Regions from separate parts of the Homo sapiens genome. Here all the other regions are linked to region 3. Evidence: promoter capture Hi-C in 16 types of primary human blood cells and fetal thymus (Javierre and others, 2016). All regions are on one chromosome and are shown on one strand. The core of a region is centred on a gene start or on the middle of the fragment in contact, and the rest is flanking DNA. Distances in the headings are between cores, read along the strand shown.

Region 1 (3,942 bases), core at 1,346-3,845, 420 kb after region 3:
TGAGACAGAGTCTTGCTCTGTTGCCCAAGCTGGAGTGCATTGGTGCGATCTTGGCTCACTGCAACCTCCACCTCCTGAGTTCAAGCAATTCTCCTGCCTCAGCCTCCTGAGTAGCTGGGACTACAGGCACATGCCGCCACACCCGACTAATTTTTTGTATTTTAGTATAGACAGTGTTTCACCATGTTGCCCAGGCTGGTCTCGATCTCCTGGCCTCAGGCTATACGCCTGCCTTGGCTTCCCAAAGTGCTGGGATTACAGGCATCAGCCACCATGCCCCACCCTAAATTTCCCATTTTTCAATAGTTATTTAGTTTCACAGTCTTTTCTAGTTTTTAAATTTTGAAACTGCTCATATGGACATTCTCTGTCATGTTTTTCTTGCCAAGGACAGCACAAGAGAATCCAATGCTCTTTTTAGCTATGATACCTTGGAACTAAACTTACTCTGACAAATGCAAACATTTTCCTGCACTGACAAAGGCCTTCACTAGTGAGTGGCGTGCTGGCCACATTGTCAGGAAGGCTTACCTTAGAAGCTATAAATTTATAAGAGGTCTGACAAAGCTGGGATGTTTTCAGGTGGTCTTCCTTAAGATCATTTAGATTTAAATATTTGAAAAGAACCCTCTAGAGACCACCTTTTTAAGAAAAAGCTCATCTAACGATGAAGATGGGGCCAGAGAACTCTCAAAGCTGCCACCACTGCTGCAACCATTTAACATCCTGTTTTCATCTTTCTCCTCCAGCAGCCACCTCAGTAGTCCCAAGGCGTGTTCCTGCACACTTACCGCAGGATGCCATAGCTATTTCCTTATTTTGTGTAGCTATTTTTATGAGGTTGTAGACAATGTGCACGCTGGTTTGTGAAGGGTTAACACTCAGTTGTGCTGTTGTTGTGCCCTTAGTCACAATATGTTTCCTTTGAAGCAAGGGTGCAGTGTTTCAAATGACAATCGGTATAATTCTGTGCAGATTTTTCCTGATTAATGGACAGGAATTTTCAGTCGAATCTTTAAATGAGTTAGGACAGTGTAAGAGATGGATATAATCCTTACATTTTTTCATTAATAGACATTTCAAATTTGAAAAACTAGGCATTGTATACATATCTGATTTATTGCTGTATGTGTTTCTTGAGTCATAAAGCTGCTGCAAAAGTTATATAATGCTTGCAAAAAAAATAGCGTGGTCTCTTTGTGAAGCTGAATGAAATAAAGTATAAAGTTTGTGATACATTAAATCACAAACATAAATATGTACTTTATGGCCAGCTGTTATTTCTAAATGTGCACATTTTAAAATAGAAACATTTACCCAACATGCTGATTAGCAATTTCCCAGTTCCAAAAGCCCAATTGCATTTAAGATGCAAAAGATTAAAATGCCTAAATAGATAAAGTTAATAGTTCATCTTCCTAAATGCTTTTATATGTTTTAAGTCTTACAGTTCCTTCCAACCCAGTAGTCTCAAGGCTGGAGCTACTTTGATGTGGATTTGTGTTTTATGCACATGTTCTCATTGGAACTGAATCTCACTGCATCTCAGACACCCAGAAAAATATTCTGCACATGAAGGGACGAAGGGACACCATGTGGCTCCATACTACTTCATGCTGTGCATGCGGGTTCTCAGAGAAAGTGAACTGTTTTTCCATTTTAATTTCTCAAATATTCAACCTTCATTTTGGCTAAAAATCATCTCAGTTGCTAATGTTCCATCTCTCAATTTTACTCCTCCCCTGCATAAAAACTGGTCAAGGAGAACATGCAAGATTATGTTGATTCTAAAATACAGTTCCCCCAGGAGACCTTATTGGCTCGTCCATATAGCATTTCTGTCTTTGTAGGTAGAGCAGAATTTGTAAATGCCTCCAGTCCTTTAGGACACATTGGCAATTGGCAGTTCAAAAGTTCATATGATGCCATATGTCTGAATAATTTTTATCTACATCTAAAACAATACAGGACTGTCAAATAAAATCCTGCATGCAAACAAATGATGGAATGCAGGGGAACTCTCTGCTTTAGCCTTTTCTTCTTTGTCCGACAAGCTAATGCAATAAGGCCAATAATAAAAGGTTGTGTATTAGGCCTAAAGCCTGTGACAGATAAAAAGAAATGTTGGAAACCAATGAAGCTTTTGCACAATTAGATTTTTTGAGGCTGTGCTGTAAGGATTGCCCAGAGCCTGTTCAGTCCTGATTGATGGTAAAATCATAACTACATCATATTAGCTGTAGAGTTCACTGACAGGTTACTACAGATTAATATTGCCACTGCTGTTCACTTACCATCAAACCAGGGGAAATATGAATTGAGCTGTTCTTCTAACAAACCCCGCATATTAAAAGGTAAGGTGTTCTACTGAACAATCTCCCCCTGTCACTGAGGAAAGACACAAACAATGTCTATTTGAGAGATATGCAGATACCTTGCAGCATACTAATTAGTTCTCTGCTAAAACAGCCCCATCACATCCGGCTGGCTAACGACCCTTCATGTGAGCTTGTTCCTTCAGAGCTCTTGGCTACAGGATTGCAAACAACATCCTAAAACGTGGAGCTGCAAACCTTGGTGATTTAAATGCTCGCTGCCAGGCAAATTGCGGTGACATAAATTTGGCCCATGTGTTTTGCATCATGTGAATACGAAACAGGGGGATGCCATGGAGCCGAGTTTTGTTTGCACTGGACTCTGGAGGTTTGGTGGACTATTTTCAGAGATGCTATTCATGACAAGGGAGGAGGATCTTTTGCTTTACTTTAAAAATGTTGAAAATGCAAGAAGTAAGCATGTTGCTCTCCTAAATTAGATCGTGCTGATAATAATGACATCCTAAGATGAAAGCATTTTATCTTTTTGCCACCCGAAGCCTTGGATAAAAATTCAACAGTAAAACGAAAACAGGGCTCACTATACAGTATATGAAATGGAATGATTCTTCCTGATTAGGATATGTCAATAAGGAAGCACTGGAGTAAGAGAGGTATTTCACGTCCTGCCTGTTGTGATGACAAGAGCCCCGGCCTGGCATCAGGCAGGAGGCCTGAAGCTTTGGCCTCTTGGTCAAGGTGCTTGTCCTCTCAAGACTTGGAATGTGTGTGCGGGGGTTGAACTAGGGAATCTCCAAGCTCTCTTTCAGCACTATTATCCCATGTTGCTGGCCCCAGTGTTTTGTATGCTAGGCCATGTGTCTTTACATGGGGCTGTTGGATTTCAGCATCAGCATTCCCTGGGTAGCTGGTTAAAGATGCGGAGTCTGGCCCCACCCCATGTGGTTCAGGTGACGTTCAGTTTAAGAACCACTGTCATGAGGGATGGCAGTGACTTGCCTAAAGTCATTATAGACTTTATCATTGTTTAAAAAAGAATGTGCAAAGAGCTAGACAGTCAGCCAGAGACTGGGGAAGAAGATAATAATATCTTCCTATAGATTTAAAGAGAATTGTTAATCTATTATTTAAATTTATATTATTTATTTATTTGAAGAGAAAATGATGACCCTGGCAACAGTAAACCATAAGCTTCATCACATTAGTGGACAGATGATAGACTAGGAGAAGATGTTTGCAATGCTTAAAACCGACTTTGACAAAAAAAAAAAACCTGACACAATTAATATCTAGAATCTATAAAAAGCTCCTGCAAATTGACCAGAAATAAACAGGAAACACCATAGAAATATATGCAAACAGTATGAAGCTCAAATGATGAACTGGTGTTGGATGGGGTGTTCAAATTCATTGATAAGCAGAACAATTGGCTACTCTAGACACATGAGAACATCAGAGTTTAGAAAACTGAATAATGCCAAGTGTTTGCAAGGATGAGGGGTTGTGAAAACTCTTTCGTTATTGAGGGAAGAGGAAATGAGTATGATTATTTCAGAAAGCAACCTGACAATCTTGATGAAATTAAGTATGAGTATGTCATAAGACT
Region 2 (3,923 bases), core at 28-2,527, 270 kb after region 3:
GAATGACACTGGGAGGCTTTACCTAGAATGGCAGCTGGGAAAACATGGAAAAGGTGAATCCAAACAAATAGGGATTTGGGCAACTGTCCTTTCTGGCTCAGTTGCTCAAGGAAAGTGTACACCATTGGGAAGTAAATCAGACTGGGTCTTATTCATCTTCCCTTAGTGTCTGGCACTCCGGGGATATTGATATGTGTTTACTAAATGAACAAGTGAATGAATGAATGAATAAGACTGACTCAACTGGGAGGGTACCTTAGAAGCAGGAGCAAGATAATAGCTATTGATCAATGGCTGGAAGTTACGAAGAGTTCAAAAAGATTCAGAATGGAGTAGGGCCATTTTTCTTTACAGAAGTGAAGAAGTCATTAACTGGATGGGAATTGTGGTTTCTTTTGCGGTGGGGCAGGTGGAAATTATGCTGGAAAGGATGGATCTCTTTGGCTCATTTACATGGCCTGGTTACACCAGGTCTTCAACTTCCACACCAATCAATATTTATATCCTTAATGCTCCCTGGCTTCCCTTCTCACAGAGGTAAGACACATCAGGATTTGAATTCCAGGTACTTTGCTCTCTGTAGACATATTTGCTTTGGTATGAGAATTATCTTGCTTGACATACCTTAGTATTCTTTACCTCTGCTCAGCGGTTTCAGTAGTTTTTTTTTCCCCCAAACCTGTTTATAGGGTTTTGCAGACCTGCCTTCTCTCTTAAAGGGACATTTCTGTTTCCTCCAAACATTTTCTAAAACACCTGAACAAACCAATTAAAAGAAAAAGTCATCTTGTAGTTTATAATGGTATTTGTGACTTTATAGGCAGTGAAATCTCTTCCTATATACATCCTAAATTAACAGAGTCTGCCCTTCATCTTTCCTTGTTTCTCTCAGGGCAGGAAATTGTTCTGGTAAATGGAGTCCCTCCCCCACGAATGCCTGGGATGGCCAGAGCCACAGAGTCCTCTGATTGTGCCCCAGGTTGATGGTTCTGTGTGCAGGGGGTCTGCATTGCTCCAGTGATCCCATGAAATGGAATTCTTTCCCCAAGCTGGAGCCCCTAAATTTACCTCTTTCTTCCTGCATTCCCTCAGAGATAGAGAATCCGAGTTAATCCCTTCAGGATTCTTATGGTTTTAACTCTTGCCTCTTCTGCTGCTGTCCTCCACTTAAATACCCGAAGCGAATTCCCTAAGCTTATTCCAGCATTGATCCTTATTTTCTTGTATAAAGGGAGAACTGCATTAAAGGTAGAGTTTCTTTAAGTGAGATTCTTATGCAATTATATATTTTTTTCTGTATTTAATGGTTGACTGTTATTCTCTTACAATGTCAAATCCTTTCTAACCTTGCTTTTCAAAACAAGCTTTGCTTTCTATTTCTTATAACTTGCTTTGGGGGAAAGAACTTTCACAGCATTTAGAGGAAAGGATGCTTAGACTAGGAGTGAAAATACCAGGTTTTCCTTTTCCCTTGTCTCTTGGGGAATAAAACATCTTCACACAGGCACACTGTCAGGTGCTGCCAACAAACAGCTACTTCTATAAATCAGTTTATTAGGCCTTTAATTTCTGTGACATTTATCTTCCCAACTTAGTTGTAAACTTTTTTTGATCATGGGAACTGACTGTTTATTTCTTTTCCTTTTTTGTTTGTTTTGCATATTCTAAGCCAACTTCAGGATTGGGTTCTCCAAATTGTGGGAAGGGCCTCTATATGTGTAGCTGGTGCCCAGGTTGAGGTAGCTACTAATTCCTGTGGGGTTGGTTCTGTTTGTTAGAATCATTGTTTTAAAATTAAAACATTTTAAAAATGAATTTATGCCAATATATGAAATGTGATGGCATGTTCACTATAATTATTTAGGATATTTTTGTCTACAAGTGTCAGAAAACTCAATTCAAAGTGATGTAAACAACAAATGGAGTGTTCCCTGTACTTTTTCCCTGTAATTTACCTTACTTTTTCTGCCAAAATTATTACTAGCATTCCTTTCACTCTCAAAAGTGCCTGGATTTGGATGATAAAATATTTGGTCATCCATATCCGTGCTTAGTGGCTGCCGTAATAAATGACCATAAAGTTTGTGGTTTAAAACAACACAAATTTCCTTTCTTATGATTCTGTAGGCTAGAAGTCGAACACAGGTTTCACTGGGCTAAAATCAAAGTGGCACCAAGGCTGGGGTCCTTCTTGATGCCCTAGAGAAGAACACATTTTCTGTTGTCTAAAACATTTATTTTTAAATAGACTTTATCTTTTAAAGCAGTTTTAGATTCATAGCAAAATTGGGCAAAAGGTACAGAAATTTCCCATATGACCCTGTCCTCACACATGCATAGCCTCCCCCAGTATCCTTGCTTTTCCCGGTTAGGAGAGGTTGCCTGCATTCCTTCAGTCATGGCCCCTTCCTTCAACAGTGTGCGGCCACGTGCTCCTCATACTACCGTATCTCAGGTCCTCTCTCCAGGTTCCCTTTCCCATGTTTAAATGCCCTTGTAATTACAGCACACCCATCCAGAACAATCCAGGATCATCTTCCTTTTTAAAAGTCATCAGTTGAGTTGCAACCTTGATTCTATCTGCAACTTAATTCCTCTTTGTCCTGTAACAAAACATATTCACAGCAGCCAGCAATTAGGCCACGGTCATCTTTGGGGGGACTTTATCCAGCCTACCACATCACTATACTCATAAAGGGCTTTATTATTGTATTATACATATCAAGAAGTCTAGACATGAGATGACTCCGGGAGGGTAAGTTTACAGCTGATGCCATCATTATGGGCCCAAGTTCTCACGCCTTTCTGCCAAGCCATCTTCAGCGAGCAAGCTTGTCTTTTGCGTTGGGTGCAAGATGGCTGCCGCTTTCTCAGCCACTGTGTGCAGTCACAGCCACAGCCAGCTCAGATAAGCAAGGGGTAAAGAGATGGTTGTTTTGTCTCCTGTAACTCCTTACTAGTGATGAAAATCTTTTCCACAGCCCCATAAGAAGATTCTTGTGTTTCACTGGCGAGGATGTAGCACACCATTGTTCACCCTCTGAAGCATATGGCTGAGGAGGGAGTGGACGCCAGAGTAAACTGGGGTACTCTCAAATGAAGGACAAAAGGGGAAGGACTCACAGGCAGGCAACCAACCATTTCCTGTGCATTCACAGGAAGGCGGGAGCAGGAACCTTCAGGGCACTCTTGTGACACGTCCTAGTTTCTATGCATGAAATTCTCTGGGACTATGAAGTGGGTAATAATTTTATTTAGAGTGACCGTTCCAGAAATCTTAAGGCACAACAAGATTGTTTTCAGTATTGCATAGATGAAGGAAGAAGACACTGTGAAACCAAATGCCACTCACAGAAGGAGGGTCTGAACCGCAGCCCTTAGGTATCCATCTTTGGTTTGCACCTGAGCCTCATTGCAGCTGTTTGACATCTTAGTCCTGTGACGACGTTGCTTCGGGTATAAATGTATGTAAAATCTTGAGGTAAAAAAGCATAACTTGTCAGCATATTTTTTTATGTTTTATAATAACTTTGCAAGTTTTCTATATTATCCATGCTCGATGCTTCAATAACTATTGTAGCTAATAGTCTCATGTACTTTTGTGAATTTATACAACCATATTGATAGCTATAGCCTCATAATGCAGAGCAGTACATTCCAGTAAACAACTGGGCTGTAAGATCCTATTATTACTGGCAGCAGGAATATATGGCAAACACAAGAAGCCACAAGCAATAAAAATTGCCTCATGTCCTTGTAATAGTCCAGGTGAAATGACATGCCAGGCACGGGTAAATATCCACAAACTACCACAGAGCACCTCTTCACCCCTTGGGGAAGTAGGCTGTTAACACCAGAAGAAAAATTGCCACTGAGATTATTAGAATGGAGTAGTGACACCTGGTAGTGAAGTGGCCCATTCT
Region 3 (4,135 bases), core at 1,378-3,877:
CGCCCTGTAGCTGAACACAGCACAAAAAGCCCTAGAGATCAAAAGCATTAGTATGGGCAGTTGAGCGGGAGGTGAATATTTAACGCTTTTGTTCATCAATAACTCGTTGGCTTTGACCTGTCTGAACAAGTCGAGCAATAAGGTGAAATGCAGGTCACAGCGTCTAACAAATATGAAAATGTGTATATTCACCCCGGTCTCCAGCCGGCTCAGCAGGCTCCCCCAATTTGTCTGGATAGAGCCTAGGCCCAGTGTCCCAGGAAGGTGGATACTTGGGAGTCTTTGGCATTCAGGGAAATTGGGGGGACTCTCCTGGGATAAACAGATTCTGCAGCCTCATAGCCCTTGTTAGAACTGGCGCCCCCAAAATCCCTACGAAACAGGTAAAGTGGTGGAAGCAAAGGATGGGGGGATGAGCAAAGTGCCAGGCTTGGAGGGGGAGTATCCCTGCCCCACCCCACCAGGCCCAGGCCCAGGCTTGAAACTAAATTTTGAATTATGTGGGAGGTAGGAAGGGCAATCAAGACAGTTAAAAAAAAATCTAACACCTTCAGCCTACAGTTAGGCACCCAAAAGCCCCACTCGAGCCAGGGCATCCCTGTGCCCCTGAAATCCATCGAGGCTCTGAGTGAGTCTGCGCTCTCCATGCCCTGAACTGAGGGACAAGCACTGCACAGTGCCGAGGCGCTGGGGCGGGTGAAATTTGTGAACTTTTGTACTCTTGTGTGCTGCTGTCGGCAAAGCAAAAATAATGAAAGTTTGTGATATGTTTGTAAATGATTTCGAATGACCCCTCGCCCTGCCCTTCACCATTAGCGCGCCGGCCTCAGCCCAAGGCGGCTCGGTGCCTGTGAGCAGCGCCTGCCTCGGGGTCTGCAGCAGCAGCGGAACGGAGAGGCCAGCCCGGATCAGGGCCCATGAAGGTAAATGCGCGACTTCTTGGAGAAGTAGCTTTGGCAGACAACCTGGCTTGGTCGGGCAGTAGGAAAAGGAGTAGACACAGGATATTCCCCTCTCGCTTCTTTTTCTTCTGCCGCTGAGGGCATTTGTTCCTTTCTGGAAAATACCACTTGGTAAGGAGGAGGGTTATTTGGATCCTGGTGGGGGAGGGTGGTTAATAAAGCCGCCATCCTTGGGATGGATTATTTTTCTTTCTTTCTTTCTTTTTTTCTTTCTTAAGAAGAATATTCTGGTTGTTCGCCTGCTTGGTAACCCTGACCCTGGCAGAAGAATGAGGGAACTCATTGCTTCAAATTGTCGCCAAGCCCATTAGGCTACCTGAACTGTCTCAGAAAGTGCGGGTGGCTGCGTCGAACGGTGGTGGCTCAGAGGAAGAGATTGGGGCCGGCAGCGACCTAGGTACCTCACTCTGGGTGGGACCCAGAGGTTGTAACGTTGTCTATATATACCCTGTAGAACCGAATTTGTGTGGTATCCGTATAGTCACAGATTCGATTCTAGGGGAATATATGGTCGATGCAAAAACTTCACGTTTCTTCGGAATAGCCAGAGACCAAAGTGCGACATGGAGACTAGAAGCAGCCGGCGCTGGTCAGCCGCCTCGTTCTGTTTTATTACCTTGGACTCCAGGAGGATCAGCTGCGCCTGGTGACATAGAGCAGCTTTTCCTCTCCAGAAGCTCCTCACCTTTAAACAGAGTATCCTCTGGGTGCTGAAAAGAAAGAAAGACAGAAAGAGAGAAAGAGAGAGAGAGAGAGAAAGAGAGAATGCAAGCCTAATTGGTTGCATGGATGCAGGGCCAAAGGGCTAGGTTTTGGGGTACTAGGGAGTGAGGTACAAGGCCAGCTTGCCCAGTCCCAGCTCTGCCCTCCAGGAACATGAGGTGCAAAGGTACCCAAATGGGGGCTTGCTTGTATTTGGGGCCTGTGGGAAGAAAGCAAGCTTCAAAGAAGCCCAGTGGGGAGCTCTAGGGTGCATTTTGACAAGGTGGAGGTGCCCTTGCCACCATCCCAGCCCACCCCCAGCTACATGGGCAAGGGCAGCGAGGGCCCCCTGCTATTTTGGCAGGGCCCAGCTTTGGCTGGGAACCCCCGGGCCTGGGCACTGGTAGAAAGCATGGCGGTTACTCATTGCCTAATTTGATTCAAGCTGGCCAGATTCTGGTAACTTTTGGGTGACCCTGATGAAGACAAAGCCAGGACGGCGGCCTTTGTATGGCAGAATCCCTGCTCCCGCCGGCTGCAGGCAGGGCGGGCAGGCAGGAACCCTCCTCGCCTGGGGCACTCTGCCCAACTCAGAGGCGAGTTCACCCACCCACCTTTCATTGCTCTGTACCCCAATAGGAGGATTCATTCTCCCTTGAGCTGTGCCTACTTGGTGTCGGGGGGCGGGGGTTGCATTCAGCTGGGGGTGAGTGGAAGGGCCACGGAAGGTTGGCAAAATCAGTGGCAGACAAAAGCTGGGATTACCTGAGGGGAATGGGGTGCTGGGGACTGGAACTACATTAATATCTGGCAGGGGCTCTCAAATGTGCCATAGCAAGCTACTTGATTACACGTATGTTATTTAGTTAAATTTGTGAAAATTATGAGATGCTCACCAACCCGGTGATAAACTTGCTCCCTCGCCATTGGCTGGCCTGGTCACATGGCTGCCCAACTTTATTCAGTTGACAGCAAGTAGGAGGGCCCTATGGAAGGAGAAAAAAAGACAACACGAGAAAAATTAGTATTTTCTACCTTCTGAAATTAATGGTCATGAGTTCGTATATGGTGAACTCCAAGTATGTGGACCCCAAGTTCCCTCCGTGCGAGGAGTATTTGCAGGGCGGCTACCTAGGCGAGCAGGGCGCCGACTACTACGGCGGCGGCGCGCAGGGCGCAGACTTCCAGCCCCCGGGGCTCTACCCACGGCCCGACTTCGGTGAGCAGCCTTTCGGAGGCAGCGGCCCCGGGCCTGGCTCGGCGCTGCCTGCGCGGGGTCACGGACAAGAGCCAGGCGGCCCCGGCGGTCACTACGCCGCTCCAGGAGAGCCTTGCCCAGCTCCCCCGGCGCCTCCGCCGGCGCCCCTGCCTGGCGCCCGGGCCTACAGTCAGTCCGACCCCAAGCAGCCGCCCTCCGGGACGGCACTCAAGCAGCCGGCCGTGGTCTACCCCTGGATGAAGAAGGTGCACGTGAATTCGGGTAAGGCTAGGGTCCAGTAACCTTTCTGTCCACATCCCAGCCCGTTAGCCTGGGTCCTCTGGAAGGGGGTGCGAGTAGGTGGGGGCGTGTGGAGCTTCCATGGGCGCCGCAATTACTCTCCCCATAAATTTTTATAGCTGAGGGAGCAGGTCAGGACCATGTGGCTGGCTGCTCGGCTGTGGGCGCAAAAGGGGGTGGGGATGGGGGGGTGGGGGAGGACTCCATTTTCAGAGCAGGGGGAAGGCTGTGGAGGAGCGGGGGATTTCCAAAATGCTTGAGGGTTCCGGACCTGGTGGTGGGCCCAGAAGAAGGAGCACATTTGGGGATCCCGCAAGCCTGGGGTATGTGGGTGTGTTTGAGGAGGTGGGTGGGAGTGAGCGTGTGCGCCGGGGAGAGGGCGGGAGGGAGGAAGCAAGCGAGCTTGGGAGCGCGCGGGGAGGGCCGCGGGCCTCGGGGCGCGCCAGGAAGTGAGCGGCGGAGGCGAGGGGCCTAACTAGTGGCCGGGCGCTGACCTGCCTGTCCTGTCTGTTTTGTCTCGCAGTGAACCCCAACTACACCGGTGGGGAACCCAAGCGGTCCCGAACGGCCTACACCCGGCAGCAAGTCCTAGAACTGGAAAAAGAATTTCATTTTAACAGGTATCTGACAAGGCGCCGTCGGATTGAAATCGCTCACACCCTGTGTCTGTCGGAGCGCCAGATCAAGATCTGGTTCCAGAACCGGAGGATGAAGTGGAAAAAAGATCATAAGCTGCCCAACACTAAAGGCAGGTCATCGTCCTCATCTTCCTCCTCATCTTGCTCCTCCTCAGTCGCCCCCAGCCAGCATTTACAGCCGATGGCCAAAGACCACCACACGGACCTGACGACCTTATAGAAGTGGGGACCCTGGGCCCATCTCTCCCTGCGCACCAGGCTGAGCCGAAGCTGCGGGGGCAGGCCGGGCCTGCTGTCACCTCGCTGGGCTCTAAGGTACTGTGGGGTGGACCTGG
Region 4 (3,923 bases), core at 1,113-3,612, 320 kb after region 3:
CTAGTGGAACTCAGTGAACGATGCCCCTCTGTTTCGCTCCTGCAAACCAGCAGTCCTCCCCACTTCACTCACTCACTCACCTCTGCATTCAGTCAGTTCCAAGATTTGTAGAGTTAAGCTCGTCAATACCTCTTGCCCTCCCTCCATCCCGCCGACCCTCCCCTCTGCCCCATCATTAGCTCAGGCCCGGATTGGGATTGGTTTAACTAAGTGACCTGCTACTTGGCCTCCTTGGTTTAGCTCTTCTTTAATCTGTTCTCAACAATGCTGCCATCTGATTCTATTCCCCTTCTGTTTAGAATCGTTTAAGTCATTCATTTATCATCTAACAAATCCTTACTGAGATGCTAATTTGACGTGGGCAATGGGGACACAGTGGAGAACAAGACAAAGTTCTTACCTTCATGGAGCTCACATTCTAGCATGGGGAGACCCACTATAAACAATGTTAATAAGTTAAGAATATAGATATTTCTAAAATCTGGACAAAAATGTGCATGTCAGAGAGTGATAAATGTTAGGCAGGAAAATGAAGCAGGGTAGGGGACCTAAAGCAAACGAGCAGCAAGGGAAGGGAATTTCTTATTTTGTGTATAGACTGGCTGGAGGAGGCTTCACTGATAAAGCAGATATTTGTCTGAGCAGAGACTTGAATGAAGCAAGGGCGACAAGCCATCGGGACATGCGGAAGAACATTCTAGGAGAGGAAACCGTAGGAAGGAGCATGACTGCCATGCTGGAGGTGCAGCAAGGAGGGTGGAATCTTGGTACCTTGGTGGGAGCTCAGGGGCATGGGTTGACAGCATGGCATTGGGTGTATGTCATGGGAGGCCTCTTGCTATTGAGAGGTTTGGTTTTTACTCTGAGTGGGTTGCAGCATTGTGAGGTTTTGAGCAGAGTAGTGATATGATCTGAGTTGTAGGTAACAAAATCATTCCTGGCAATGTGTTGGGAAGGGATTGTAGAGGGGCAAGAGTAGAAGCAGGGAGAACATCAGGAGACCACTGCCATGATCCAGGCAAGAGGTGATGATGGCTTAGAGCGGATGGCAAGAAGTGGGCAGATTCTGGATGTCTGTTGCATGGTTCTGTGTCCTTCAAGATAAAATGCCGAGTGCTCAGCATATCACACAAGGTCCTTCGTATCTGTCTCCTTCATATTTCTTAGCTGTCCCTAGGGCTTTGCACATACTACTCTGTGTTCCCAGAGCCCCTAGCTACTTCCTTGAATGCACAACTCAGTAAGCCCTCTCTTTTCTTCCTCCAAACCTGGCTGGACTATTTTTTCAGCTCCTTGCACTTGTCTCCATTCCTTTGTGATATAATTGTGTCTTTACTTGTTTGCCTTCTCCACACTGGGCTGTGAGCTCTTTGAAGGAAGAAATTACCTGAGACTGGGTAATTTATAAAGGAGAGAGGTTTAATGGACTCGTGGTTCCATATGGCTGGGAGGCCTCACAATCATGGTGGGAGAGAAGGAAGAGCAAAGGGATGTCTTACATGGTGGCTGGCAAGAGGACTTGTGCAGGGGAACTCCCATTTTTAGACCCATCAGATCTTGTGAGACTTATTCACTACCACAAGAACGGTATGGGGGAAACCGCTGGCCTGATTCAATTATCTCCACCTGGCCCCACCCTTGACACATGGAGATTATCACAATTCATGGTGAGATTTGAGTGGGGACACAGCCATATCACCAGTGCTTGGCACATAAAGAGATATTCAATAAATATTTGTTTCGTGGTGAAATATACACACTAATAAGGCCTGGGCTTGAACTTCTTTTTTTTTTTTGAGAAAGGGTCTCACTTTGTCACTCAGGCTGGAGTGCCATGGCATGATCACAACTCACTATAGCCTCAAACTCCTGGGCTTAAGTATCCTCCCACTTCAGCCTCCCGAGTAGCTGGGACCACAGGCATGTACCACCAAGCTTGGCTGATTTTTAAATTATTTTTGTAGAGATGTGGTGTCTCTCTGTTTTCCAGATTGGTCTCCAACTCCTGGGCTCAAACAGTCCTCCTCCCTTGGCCTCCCAAAATACTGAGATTACAGGCATGAATCACCATGCCTGGCCTGGGCTTGAACTTCTGGTTCTTCAAGGAAAAGCCCTAGAGAAGCATTCCCAGCCTAGGGACATACATAAACAAAGACAGCAGTGGGATTTAACTTTGGAATATAGACACTGCAACCTTAGGAACTTTTTAGAGTATCGTGGGGTTTAAACAAACAAAAAGAAAAAACTAGCAGTATAGGCAAAAGGAGTGAAGGGTCAGCAGTTATGGAGTAAAAATACAAAGACTTACTGTTTGTAGAGTGCCTACTCTCAGTCATACTCTCTACTAGCATCTGAACTATGGAGTCAGAGATTGACCTGGAGGCTTCTGGGGCCCTGTGAAACCTGGCTGAGTGTGTTTTTTAAAAAAGTGTTATGGTCTGAATGTTTGCATCCTCCCAAAATTCATATGTTGAAATATTAACCCCACGGTGATGGTATTAGGAGGCAGGGTTTTTGGGAGGTGATTAGCTCATGAGGGAAGAACCCTCATGGATGAGGTTAGTGCTCTTACAAGAGGCCAAAGGGAGCTGATTTGCCCCTTCTGCCATGTGAGGTTACAGTAAGAAGATATCCATCTATAAGAAAGCGGGCCCTCACCAGCATCTGGCCATGCTGGCACTGTGATCTTGGACTTCCCAGGCTCCAGGACAGTGAGAAATAAATTTCTGTTGTTTATAAGTCACCCAGTTTAGTGTATTTTGTTACAGAAACCCAAACAGACTAAGAGAATAAGCTTCCAAGAGTTCACCCATCCTCTGAACAGGCAGAAGGATACAAACATGATGAAACCAGCATTTGAGAAAGAGTATGGAAATGGTCCCTTGCCAGGGTCCCCATGTGTCACCATATGCAAGTACCATAAAAATACTTATTCTTCTTGGCATCCCCAACAGCATTTAGAATTGATATGACTGCTGGGTACTTTGTCACAATTCACTTGTTAGTCTTCACCTAAGTGGTTTTATCTCTGTGTTTAGCATTTCGCCTGTATTGTCTCCCACCCTTGGCCCACCTCTTACTCTACCTGCTGCTATTGTAATTAGCTTTATGTGGCCAAATTTGACAGCACCTCACCTCAGCTACACCATGGACCTCTTGCTTCCTGTCCCAAGGCCCCTCTGACATCAAGGCTGAGAGAGATGCCTGTGGAACCCATTCACATACGCAACCTGGAAGTGCAGGAAGGTAAAGTTTCACAGGCAGCCCTTGATCAGTGGAAATAAGAGCTGGCGGAGAAATGCTTCCTCTTCGGTGTCCCTAGGCAGGTAATTCTGAGGCACATTCTTTTTTTGAGATGGTCTCGCTAAGATGCCTAGGCTGGAATGCAGTGGCGTAATCTCAGCTCACTGCAACCTCTGCCTCCTGGGTTCAAGTGATTCTCCTGCCTCAGCCTCCCGAATAGCTGGGATTACAGGCATGCACCATCACACCCAGCTAATTTTTGTATCTTTAGTAGAGAGGGTTTCACCATGTTGGCCAGGTTGGTTTCAAACTCCTGATCTCAGCTGACCCACCCACCTTGGCCTCCCAATGTGCTGGGATTACAGGCATGAACCACTGCGCCACTGTGCCTGCCTGGCCTCTGAGGCACATTCTATACAGTGTCTCAGAAGCTCCTGGAGGCTTGAGCTCCATCACTCACAGCATTGACTGGACAACACACCCTTCTCTGGGCTTTCCCCTCTTTCCTCTTTTATTGTCCACAGTGTCTCATTTCCATTTCCTGGGTTTGCCTCTCAACCAGATGTAACCCACTGTCTTAGACTGCTTGGAAGTGGCAGCACAGTTGAAGGGTAGAAGGGAGCCAGGCTCAGAACCCCATGCTTAGTACCCTCAAGTCATGAGAACACCAGGACTACATC
Region 5 (4,003 bases), core at 605-3,104, 440 kb after region 3:
TGTGGTGAGACTAATATTTAAACACACAAATAGATGTGGCAATGTAACACAATGGTTGAGAAGGTGGGCCCCAGACACTGTTACATTGCTAAATATTTAACAATAACAACTGTTGATCTGAAAGAGAATTGTGGGAGGAGGGTACGCTGGTGTGTAGTTCATGCCTATTTCCATGGTGTAAATACTCTCACTATAGCTTATTTCAAGCTACCAACTTGACATCACTGAATGGAGAGTTAGAAAGAGATCCTAATAATAGACTCTCTAATGCTGGTATGAACTGGCTCTGGTGATAACCTATCTGGTCTTGAGTCTCAACTCTGGCATGTACTACTGTAGTCTCCGCTTTGTAACTCCTTTATCCTTTAGCACCATCTGGAAAGTGGGATGTTAGTGGTGCTTTTTCATAAGTTCATTTGAGGGTTCCATGTAAAGTACTTAGAACAGTGTCTGGTGCATGGTCTCAGTAAGCATGAATGTACTTATTATGATTAAATACAAAGAGGATGGAGAGATGGCTACCAGGTAGGGGATTCCAGGACTTAAGAAGGGGTAAATTTTTCTACAGGTGGGGATGGTGGGGATTGTCCTCCATCTCAAGGGTTGGGGGACAGCATGGCAAAGCCAAGCAGGTAAGAAAGTACCAATAATGTTTGGAAAATTCCTTGTAGCTCAGTTTGGCCTGGATACAGGTTTGCCTTTTTAGGGAGATTATGTGCTTAGGAATTAGGGTGGGCCACGTTGCAGGGGTCTTGAATGCAGGAAGATCGGACTTACTACAGGGGACAGTGAGGAGCCACTAACTATTTAGGGACAGCAGAGTGACATGAGACCTGGTATTCCCAACAAAACTTCTTTAAGCTGAGGGTGACATGAATGTCCAAGTGATGTGAGGTGACTGCTTCAAATTATCCCTTGGGAATGCAGACTTAATCTATGATTTAAAACCAGTATCGACTGGCTACAGCCAAGTCTGGCATGCAACTAAAGGACATCAAGGCAAACTCTGGGTTTCAATACAGTGTTCAGGACTCCAATTGGGCCAATGAAAGTTGTCAAACAGGTATATCTTCCATAATAATTAACTCACATTAATGAAATTTCCTATCAAGTAGATGCTCCATAGATATATGATCGAACTGACTGGAATCATCAGTTCACAGAAACTCTAATACAAAACAAATTGCTGCCCTTTAGAAATGACTTACAAATAGAACTTCTGCAAATATTATAGGATAGGAGAAGAGTATCACTTTCTACAGAGCTGATTGAAGGAGAAATTGCTCAGTTGATATTGTTTTCCAGAATGTCACCCCTTCAGAAAACACTCTTTCAAAATGGCTCATTTACTTTGCATCTAATTTCTATCAATTCAGGCTTTGTTTTGTAAACAATGTTCCAAGAGCCAAGTTCCTTTTTAACAGCTTACAAATTACCCCAAATCACACTATTGTTTGTAACAGCCTTCACATTTCGTGTGCTGATTACCAATTTAGAAGGTACAGTGGCATGCGTTGTTTCCTCTCATCTTCATAGTAGCCCTGTGAGAGGGAACTGCAGGACTTGAGAGTTGGAAGGGACCTGTGAGATGACATTGAAGGCCCTCTTTCCTCATTAATTCATTCAACAAACCTTTGTTGTATATTGACAGAAACTTGACAGAAACTGTGCCAGGATTACCCATGCTGAATAAGAGAGAAGGTTCCTGTTCTCAAGGAACTGACATTCTTAGTGGGAGGCCAACTGCAAACAAATGCACAAATGTATTATCAAGATAATTAAATTGTGGTATATTCTCTGAAGGGAATATACAGGTTCTATGATAGAGAGGATTTGGGTTGAAATTGTACTTTAGATATCACTGTCAGGAGGTGACATTTGAACTGAGACTTGAATAGTAAGAAGGAGCTAGTCGTTGAAGACCTTGGGGCAGAGCATTTAAGGCAGAGAGAACAGCAAGGACTCAGGCCAACAGTGAGCCTGGCATGGCTAAGGAAGGTGAGGACCAGTGTGGCAAAGCAAAATAAGCAAAGGGGACAGTGGTACAAGATGACATAGGAAACTTGGACACAACCCAGATTCTGAGGACTGAATTTCAACCCAAGCCATGGAAGTGTTCTGAGCAGAGGAGAGATATGTATCTGCTGGGAGGTGAAGGGATGTGTCGAGGTACTAAGAGTGTCAGCAGTGGGACCACTCAGGAAGCCGAAGCCCAGAGAGAGAAAGTAACTTTTTCAAGATCATTCAGATGGTTGGTGGCAGAATTGGTTCTAGAACCAGGTTTTCGCCCTCAAGTTTTAAGTGTTCTTGTCATTTTGCAAATAAGAAAGTGTCTAAGGGATTTTAATTACTGTTTGTACAGGAGCATCTAGAAAGTTTATAATCATCCCAGTCTTCAGAAAAAATATTATATTGCAGAGTATATTTTTAGTGTGTGTGTGTGTGAACACGTGTGTGTGTACGTTAGAAACACTGAGATCAGTCTATACTTCGTAGACACTAGGTATGTGGGTGTGGCAGACACACCTTATTGTCTATATTATTATAGTCTCCATCCTTTTCCTTTCTCCTGCCCACAGACTCCTCATTTTGTTCCAGATAACATTGTATTTTCCAGTCTCCTTTGCAGTTAAGAGTAACCTAGTTTTGACCAATTAGAATTTTGCTGAGGTTTTCTGGAAAATTTTTACTTTTCTCATAAAAGCCCCATTTTTTCTACATTCTTGTCATTTTCTCTTTCTTTTGTGAAACCATGGAAATGAAAGCCACATATTAAGATGGCAAAGTAAGAAGCTGGAAGGAGCCTGGTCCTTGGTGGTTTAAAAGTCATGGCACCAACTCTGTGCATATTATATTACTTCTGAACTTCATGGCAGTTAAGAAAATGTTAGTTAAACCACTGTGTTTGGATCTTTGTTAAATGCAGCTGAACGCATGAGCTAATTCACTGGCCTGGAGAGAGAAAGAGCGATAAGTTAATACACAGTGGCTGCAATCCAATATAAACAGCTTATGAAAATATGAGATGGGATCAACGATGTGCTAGAACCAGGAAAAGTAAGAGTTGTGGATTTTCCTAAACCAAAGTGGTATTTTTCTAAGCAAAGCTATGGTAGCACTTTCTTTAGGAGGAATTAAGCCATCAGCTTTTACAATAAAATTTCCTATCCATGTGGGCCCAAGAATCAAGGAGACCTAGAACCAGGGACATTTGAATTATACCAGGAGAAGGAACCCTGAGAGGGTGTTCAATCAAGCTGCTGTCAATCACCTGCAAATTCACTTAAAGCAATTGTCAAGAGGTCTAGGCAAGTTTAAGCCTCCTTTGCAGGTTATGAGTCCATCTGAGGTTGCATCCAGAGTCAGCTCAAGGGATTCTTGGTCCCTTTTATAGATCAGGCTCACAGTACATCTTCCTTCCAGGCTACTCACACCCAAGATGGTGATGAGCCTCTAAAGGTCACCCTATTTTCAATCTAGGGATCTCCATGGCTAGCCAAAGGAGATGTAAATAAGAGCTTTCTGTGTCATTTCTTTTCATGACTACCTGAAAACATTGTCTGACCCTACTCAAGTCCTTTGACAGTTATTCAAAGATGCTATTTGGGTCAAGGAGCAAAGGACTTATTCATGCCCTCATTTTCTCACATTAGAGCTGCTCTTAGAATTTGCATTTTCTCTCTTATACATAGACACACATAGACATTAGACTATAAATTTGAAGGCAAAGTCTATTTGTAATGGTTACTATATAATTCCAAGCCCCAGTACAGCATAAAGTACTATGTGTTATTCCATAAATATTCACTGTGTATCTGACTCGTGGACACAGACGTTCCTACAGCTTCCATAGAAAAGGCTCTAATAGGTCACTTACAGCTTCCATAGAAAAGGCTTAATAGGTCACTGAACAGGTACACAGAGGTAAGAGGAATATCAGGCTCTCCATCCCTCTAAAAGTTTCCCAGAAGCATGACCACTGAATACCCACCAGACTAAACTA
Region 6 (3,685 bases), core at 576-3,075, 470 kb after region 3:
AGGAGTCTCAGGCTGCAGTGAGCTATGATCATGCCACTGCACTCCAGCCTGGTTGACAGAGCAAGCCTCTGTCTCTAAAAATAGTAATAATACTGCTTTAGTTGACATTGTTATTTCAGAATTATAAATTACAGTAGTTTACTTTTTTTTTTTTTTTTGAGACAGGGTCTCACTCTGTCATCCAGGCTGGAGTGCAGTGGCATGCTCACGGCTCACTGCAGCCTTGACCTCCAGGGCTCAGTTGATCCTCCCACCTCAGCCTCCCAGGTAGCTGGGACTACAGGTGTGTGCCACCATGCCCAGCTAATTTTTTGTATTTTTAGTTTTTGTAGAGATAGTGTTTCATCATGTTGCCCAGGTTGGTCTTCAACTCCTAGTCTCAAGTGATCTTCTCACCTTGGCCTCCCAAAGTGTTGGGGTTACAGGCTTGAGCCACTGTGCTTGGCCAGTAAGTTTGCATTTAATTGACACTATACAAAAGTTATGTTAGTTTATTCTCATAAATGTATTTGAAAGAAAATCCTTCATCATTTTATTAATCACAATTCTTTGTAATTACTCTCCCTCAACTCAGGAGTGCTGTGAAAATGATATTGATGACTAGAAATTGCTATGTGAAAAATATAAAGTAAAAATGTATTTGTATTTGTATATCACAAATCAACCAAACCGATGGTAGAGAGGTTAGTGGTGATACATATGAAGCATTTGCTGGGAATTGAGAAGGTGCCTATTATAAAATTAATGCGTTTGTGTCATATAATTTACTGACCAAACCCAGAGACTCTGAGAGTTAATGGTAGTGCTGTAATATTTATTCTGGGACAAAAAGCATAAATAGGACTGTCAGGAACAAATCAGGACATATGGGCACCTCGTTACATTAAATGAGAACCGTTTCTTATGCAGGTAACCCACAGTATAGAAGTAATGGATGGGCTGTCCTCACAGGTTTATAGGAAGAAAGGGACCCTCATCCTTAATGGAAGTCCCACGAGTTAGAACCAGCAGTTACAAGATTCTGTCTTTTCTACTGGCCACTCTGTCTCGGGTGGATGAAACCTTTCAGCAGTCCCCTTCCCGATGGAGCAACTGACGAGCCCTGTGAGTGGAAGCTCTATCACTTTGCCCATCAGCTCACAAACTCAGAAAACTGCTTGGATGGATCTGTTCTGTCGGGTGTGGGGAGAGTCCTTCCTTGATCAATGCTTAATGAGCCAACTCTGTCATCTTCCTTTCTGTGCCCTCCATCAGAGAGGTTGGAAAGAGGGAGGAGCTATAGAGCTGCAGCTTACTAAAGCCACTAGCCTCTGTCATTGTTCTGTTTGTTCCTCCTCGCCTTGGGAAAAAACTCAAAGCTATATCATCTTGATAAGAGCTTTCTATTAAAAACCAGTGCATACATTATTATTATCTCTTGAGAGATGAAGAAATGGAGGCTCAGAGACATTAAGAGATTTGCCCAGAGGGAGTATCATGGTGGAGACTTCCGAGGCCCGGGCTGGGGCATTTTCCACCGTAACACAGTGCTACATGGAAACACCTCATAAAGACTGCATTGCTTTAATTTAATTTACAATATAAGCTTGAGTGTTTCCAAAGAAATCAAATGTGATGTTCACGCTTTGTTTCCTACAGCGGTGGTTACCCTGTATCATTCCGTAGGCTTGCTGTCCTTGGGCAAATGTGACGCTGCACACCTAATAATCACAGCCAGTCTAGCGGAGGCCTGTGCTGCCGGAGAGCTCCGTGGATGCCGACCAGCATTATTTAAGTTTTCATTCAAAATCTCCTTTAGGGTGACTTCTGTGCACCTGAACTTCCCGTTCAAGAAGATCAACAAATGGCTGAAGACAGATTTTTCAGCCAGAGGAAAGAATTATTACCTTACCATCAGTCTAATGAAAACAGAGGTGAAATACCAACCTGCAGTAGATAAACAGCACACCGAGCCATCCATCACATTCAGCCTTACTGAGCAGAACACCCTAACCGATTTCGCCTGATTTTCCTGCGCCTCTTGCAGACAGGCATTCACAATATCAGAGAGCTGAGACATTTTCCAGCAAGCTTTCGTCAGAATAAAAACCTGATCAGGAATCCTTGAAGCCATCCCGTCTCCCAATCTAAATTCCCCTTTCTCTCTAGCTATGAACACCAATAGCTTATTAAAGACTTGCTTCTCACTCGCAAGCTCTGCCAAGCTGGCATTCCCTTCCAGGAGCTGGTTTCTATTATTATTGGATCTACACAGCACCTCCAACGACAACTCTCTTTTTCAGAACCTTCTAGTTGATAATTAGCATATCCATTCATTCAGCAGAAATACCTGCCCATTACTAGGCACTCCGGGTATAGAGATACAAGGCCCCTGTCTTCCAGGAGCTGAAAGTCAAAGGAAAAAGGCATCTTGCCTATCTATAGACCTTTTCTTTCATTTTTCACATATATCATCACTCATTTTGCCTTAGCAATGGTGAATCAAAGACAGCAATGCACATGTTGTTAACAATGGCCGTTGAGGAACATGTTTGAAGGGCTCTAACACATTATAAATTGTGCTAATGTCTGTTGATCTTTGCAATAAGGAATCATAATAGAAACAACAAAACTATGAAATAGATTTGTGGAATGCTTATGATGTGAAAGGCGCTAATCATATTTTGTTTAATACTTATGGAAATCCCACAAGATCGTAGTATCCCCAATACACAAATGAAGAAATGGAGCCCAGCCTGAGAGTATACATCTAGTGAGTAGCAAAGCCACTATTTGGACCCAGGTATTTTTCAGGGTATTCAGAGATGGTCATACTGTATCTGGTTAATTCACAAGAAACTAATAAGTAAAAGAAAATTTTCACTATCCATAGTGGAGGATATCCCTTTCTGGGGTCCAGAATACCTTGCTCCTATCCATGGAACACCTTCCTCATATCACATTTTTAATCAGAAATCTGCAAAGGGAGAGCGAATAGTATCAGAGGATGTTCCATACAGACTACGGTAAGGACAGATGAGATGACACTTCAAGTCATACACACATGTGTACACACACAAACACACATACATGCACACGGACATGATCTCTGGTGACTGGAGTGATTCCCCCTTTCACTTCCATCACCATCTCTCTAGGACAATTCTACACAAGTCACAAAACTCTGCCTATATGATTACTTATTTTGTGTTCCAGTGCAGATCATCCAAGGTGAGCTTTTGTCCTTAGCCTGGGATAGGCCATATTCCCAGAGTAAGTATGCCTTGTAAATTAGCTCCTTAGTACACTAATGAGTATGACATTTTTAAAAAAGCAAGAGGTCATGTGATAGAGTTCTATGGTTTAAAACATGTTTAAGAAATGCAAATGTAAACAAAGTGAAATCGGCACTGTGACTATGGAAGATTGTCCCAAACAGATTTGAGAAGCACTGTAGGACTCATGCTCCTTAGGACACTGGGCTGTACTCCTGCTTCTTCTGAAATCACATTTTGCAAAAGGTAAAGAAACATTCTATCTCCTTCAATTATGCATGTATTTAAGTAACTTAATGCTTAGAGCACAACTACTTGCCCTAACTTCCAAGCTTCGGAGAGATACCTCCATGTCACCCCCAAGAACCATAAGATGTATCACTTATTTATTTCTATTGCCTCTAACACTTACACTTAGTAGAGAAATAAAC
Region 7 (4,222 bases), core at 1,000-3,499, 380 kb after region 3:
TTTCCAGATCATCAAATATGGACATCGTTTTCTAGCCAAATGCTTTATTAATGATAAATTAGCAGTCCCAAATGAACACAGGTGTGATAAAATATCTACTTCATTGACAGGTTTTTATTATGAACTGTACTTACAGGCTTAAATTGAAAAGACCCATCTCCACAAACCACTTCCACATTTTGAATAATGTTTCACTTGTGATAGGTAAATAGGAGGCATTTTAGGAACATTTCAATAAATCTCATTTGGAGTGAGACTGATTTTTCTTAAGTAGACAAAGTTGGGTTGGAAGACTTATAAAAATAGATTGATTATTTCCTGGTGCCATAAGAAAAGAAAACCGCAATAAGTACTTTGCTGCTGACATTTTGAAAATCTTACATCCTATAGCTTGTTTGACTTCATTAGATTATACTAAATATTAGGAAGGTGCAGAGGAATGGTGAAGAAATGAAACTAGAGAACAAGGATGTATTTGCCTAAAAAAACTGGAAGGAAAAAATGAATTCTTTTCATTGAACCACTATCTGTTCCTTTCCATCCTACTTATGAGACAAGTCAGTCAACAGCTATTTACAAGACATGGAAGCTTAGAATTACATTGCTTTAAAGTATGAGGACTTCAATATTATGGCCTAACAACTAGCCAGTATCTTTTTCAACACAAGAGTAAGCAGTCTGGCAGATCTCTGGAGTTCTAAACCAACAGATCAAGTTCCCCCCTTGGTTGTTTAGGCCTCTATAAAGAAAGAAATGCAATCCAATAATGACGATATTGGCAGTGGAGAAACACACCCAAACCCCTATTAAAGCTAATTCAGAGAGACTTCCTGTACCCTGTAATGATATTTCAAGGCATCTTTTTTGACTTGTGGTGGATTCAAATGTATGTAATGGGTCATAGACTAATAAGATTTTATTGTTCTTGGAATTGGGTTGAAATATCTCCTTTACCTCCCACCTCCTTCATTCTATCACATACCCATGCCCTCTCTGCCCTGATCCCAATATGACCTCATAGCACATGTCCCTTAGGACCAATGCACAATGAGGATTTAGCACAGCTCTCACTGCCTTACCTCTTTGGAGTCTTTGGATAACCTTCCAGGTATGGTTCTGAACCTTTTCCATAAAGCAGTAGCAGCCTTGCAGGAATTTTGCTATGAAAAAAGTAAAATGAACTGGACTTCACGATCAACCAGAAACAAGCGTGAACAGACCTGTTCTCAGACCAAATCAACATCTACTCCTGCCCTGACAACTATAAATTCAGAAGTCGTCACCACATAAAGTGCCTCATGCACAAATACTTGAACTCTGACTTCCTTTCAACAGCCTTAATGGTACTGCTTCCCATATCATTTTAACATGTCCTGGTGTTGTAATGCCATAAATGACAAGCTCAACTATGATCATGGCTCTAGTTGCCAGGCCTAACTCCACAACACCTCTGTCATGTAACAGGCGGCCCTGATGTGGCACACACAAGAGAACTCCGCCCCCGCAACTCCCAGAGCCTCAACTCTCTCAAGCCTTTCCTTCTGTATTAGAATGTGGAGGCCTAAAACCCACTACTGCAAAGTACAGACATGAAAATAATTAACCATCTCTTCTATTCAGCTATAACTTATATTCCCTCTGAGGAGGAAAAATGGAGAGAGAGAGAAAAAGAACTCCAGGCCCAGAGACCCACATTTCATTTGGAACACTAGGGGTTCTTGGTAGAGATCATTAAAGTGTAGTTTGAGATATTTTCCTTTTCTCATCAAATCACTAGCCCTGTAATTGATGTCATAAAAAATATCTGTGTTCAGTTGCAGTGGGTTTCTCAGGTCCCTTCAAGTTATCAATTATTTATATCCCAATGAAATGAAAGGAAGCTGCATTGTAAGGTCCTGAAATGCCACTGAGGAGTCTGAGGGTGGCATCGTTAATCTTGTGCATTGCACCCATGAAGAGCACATTATACTCTACTTGGGAAAGTTCATTTCCCCTTCTCTGTCATACATTATCTGGTGGATTTTATTGCTTCTCCTCATAAATAGTCTCATTGGGCTTTTTGTTTGTTCATATCCTCCACAATTTAGACTCATAAGGATGACAGGAAAAACACCAGTGCCTTCAGATTCCACAGACCCTTTTCTTTGGGTCTTGTGGGCTTTAGCCATTTCCTCCTCATTCCATGGCATCCAGGGAGTTTTGTTCACCTACCAACATTACATAGTCTGGATTTTAGGAAGAATTACATTTTCTAATGGCATAATTTAATTAGTATTAGGGTTCATAGCCTTCCATTATTTTTCCTGCTTTAATTTCCCCCTTCCCAAACTTTCTTCCCCTATTCACACAACAGAGTAATTCTAGCAAGATGAGATAATCACACTGTTACTTTTCCTTGGGGGAAGCAACAGAAAACATTTGATGATAAGTCTTAACATCCTAACTTGGCCATTATTCTTTTAGTGAAATGAAAAGGAGTCTTGGCTAGCACACTACCTTTATATATTCTGGTAAAGAACTTTATAGGTATCGCTGGTAAAATCTGATACTGCACCTTGTGCCAAGACATTATTTTCAGGCTTATTTAGGATTGCCCTTTTATAGGCCTCATTGTAACAACTAGAGACAGTTCATGGAATCAGAGTTATATCTAAACAGAGTGCTGCAATAGGCTTTAGCTTTTCCATCATGCAAAGTGCAGATCGAAATCCAAATGAATCTGTTCCTAATCAGCCTGTGTCTCTGATCTACAGACTATAAATTTGGTTGTTATCAATGATATGGCATGCAAGTGTAAGTAAGGATTGCTTATGTGGAGAAACCACTAAGAATGTTCTAAAAATGTTGGAAGAAAGGAGCATGAATTTATAAGAAAAAAATGGGTACAAGCAAACCCAAATAACCTTGTGTAGTCTTACCTCTACATGACCTATATTTTCTGTTATAGGTCATGATCTCCTTTTGGAAAACAGCAAGGTGGCTCTTTCCAGGACTGAGGAGGGCATATATATTTATTGTTCCCCATCTAGTCAAAGGGAAGTTTTGAGAATAGGGAGCACGCTGGTTAGACAGGACTGCAGCCACAATTCTTTCTTAACGCTGCAGTTTCATGTTTTATATTTACTGTTCCCTAGACATGTAGACATCTAAATTGGCATTAGGAGTGTGGGGAAATTCTGCCAATAATTGGATCCTGAAAACCTCAACAACTTGATTAACTTCAGAGACTTGCAGTCCTGTTTGCCAAGTATTATGCCATCCAGAGTTTCACAATACACCTAGCAATACAGATAACTAATATTCCTCTCCCCTTCATTTCCTGCAAAGAAAGGACTCTTTAAAACATAAGGGGATATGTTCATTCAATGCAGCTACAAAGAAGGAGAGAGGGATATTTTTGCAAAGTGATCAAAAGCTACTTAAACAATTAGGTGCCTGCGATGAAGGCCCCAGCACTTGTGATCTCAGCTTGGTGCTCCAGCTTCCTGTAGGATGGAGAGGCATCATATGGCTGAGGCTATGTGTTTCCTGTCCAGAGGAAGCAGAAGGGATCAGGAAAAAAAGAGAGTAGGGGAAGGAGCAGATGGGTAGAGCTAGAGAGGACTTCTAGCTCTCTCTGACCCTAGCCATGGTCCGTGCTTGATGGTTCTTTTAACAGAATGTGGTTTTGTAGAGGACAAAGCAAGTGCAGCTTAAAGAAGCCCCTGCAGACAATTTCAAAGCTGAAAAAAAAATCAGGGTTGCTTATGTGGAGAAATTACTAAGAATGTTCTAAAAATGCGGGAAGAGAAGGGCATGAATTTATAAGAAAGAAAATGGGTACAGGCAAACCAAAGTCACCTGGTTTAGTCTTAGCTCTCCGTGATCTGTATTTTCTGTTATAGGCTAGGATAAATGATTTCATCTATGTCAAGCTTAATGTTTTTCTTTTCTTTTCTTGTTTTGTTTTGTTTTGAGATGGAGTTTAGCTCTTGTTGCCCAGGCTGGAGTGCAATGGCGCAATCTTGGCGCACTGCAACCTCCACCTCCCGGGTTCAAGCGATTCTCCTGTTTCAGCCTCCCAAGCAGCTGAGATTACATGCATTGCACCACCACAGCTGGCTAATTTTGTACTTTTAGTAGAGATGGGTTTCACCATGTTGGCCAGGCTGGTGTCAAACTCCTGACCTCAGATGATCCACCCGCCTCGGCCTCCCAAAGTGTTGGGATTACAGGCGTGAGC

What was found. The method cuts DNA at HindIII sites, captures the fragments that hold promoters and counts their contacts. A CHiCAGO score of 5 or more calls a contact.
Region 1: a fragment that was not itself captured here is called in contact with the fragment with the promoter of HOXD4 in region 3 in 1 of 17 cell types (fetal thymus); the score reaches 6.8 in fetal thymus.
Region 2: a contact is called between a fragment that was not itself captured here and the fragment with the promoter of HOXD4 in region 3, in 1 of 17 cell types (endothelial precursors). The highest score is 6.3, in endothelial precursors.
Region 4: a contact is called between a fragment that was not itself captured here and the fragment with the promoter of HOXD4 in region 3, in 1 of 17 cell types (endothelial precursors). The highest score is 5.3, in endothelial precursors.
Region 5: a fragment that was not itself captured here is called in contact with the fragment with the promoter of HOXD4 in region 3 in 1 of 17 cell types (fetal thymus); the score reaches 7.1 in fetal thymus.
Region 6: a contact is called between a fragment that was not itself captured here and the fragment with the promoter of HOXD4 in region 3, in 1 of 17 cell types (fetal thymus). The highest score is 6.7, in fetal thymus.
Region 7: a fragment that was not itself captured here is called in contact with the fragment with the promoter of HOXD4 in region 3 in 1 of 17 cell types (endothelial precursors); the score reaches 6.0 in endothelial precursors.

The regions. Positions count from the first base shown.
Region 1 is chr2:176,572,544-176,576,485 of GRCh38, forward strand. No RefSeq gene overlaps it. Among named protein-coding and RNA genes, the nearest start is that of MIR1246, 27 kb to the right of the region's middle. The HindIII fragment of the contact is 915 bases long and covers 2,139-3,053 here.
Region 2 is chr2:176,423,998-176,427,920 of GRCh38, forward strand. No RefSeq gene overlaps it. Among named protein-coding and RNA genes, the nearest start is that of NRAL, 82 kb to the right of the region's middle. The HindIII fragment of the contact is 170 bases long and covers 1,193-1,362 here.
Region 3 is chr2:176,148,923-176,153,057 of GRCh38, forward strand. HOXD4 (homeobox D4) reads left to right here and starts at 2,628. Exons shown (of 2, transcript NM_014621.3): 1 at 2,628-3,144; 2 at 3,686-4,135. The coding sequence starts at 2,712. The coding sequence ends at 4,020. It overlaps MIR10B (microRNA 10b), which reads left to right and starts at 1,381; the gene lies at 1,381-1,490. It also overlaps a transcript of HOXD3 not described here. RefSeq lists an enhancer at 2,347-3,080. The HindIII fragment of the contact is 3,668 bases long and covers 1,901-4,135 here.
Region 4 is chr2:176,473,801-176,477,723 of GRCh38, forward strand. No RefSeq gene overlaps it. Among named protein-coding and RNA genes, the nearest start is that of NRAL, 32 kb to the right of the region's middle. The HindIII fragment of the contact is 859 bases long and covers 1,934-2,792 here.
Region 5 is chr2:176,593,193-176,597,195 of GRCh38, forward strand. No RefSeq gene overlaps it. Among named protein-coding and RNA genes, the nearest start is that of MIR1246, 5.9 kb to the right of the region's middle. The HindIII fragment of the contact is 5,480 bases long and covers 1-4,003 here.
Region 6 is chr2:176,617,499-176,621,183 of GRCh38, forward strand. The region is part of intron 4 of LINC01116 (long intergenic non-protein coding RNA 1116); the gene reads right to left. Among named protein-coding and RNA genes, the nearest start is that of LINC01116, 18 kb to the right of the region's middle. RefSeq lists an enhancer at 3,415-3,685. The HindIII fragment of the contact is 485 bases long and covers 1,584-2,068 here.
Region 7 is chr2:176,530,511-176,534,732 of GRCh38, forward strand. No RefSeq gene overlaps it. Among named protein-coding and RNA genes, the nearest start is that of NRAL, 25 kb to the left of the region's middle. The HindIII fragment of the contact is 3,325 bases long and covers 588-3,912 here.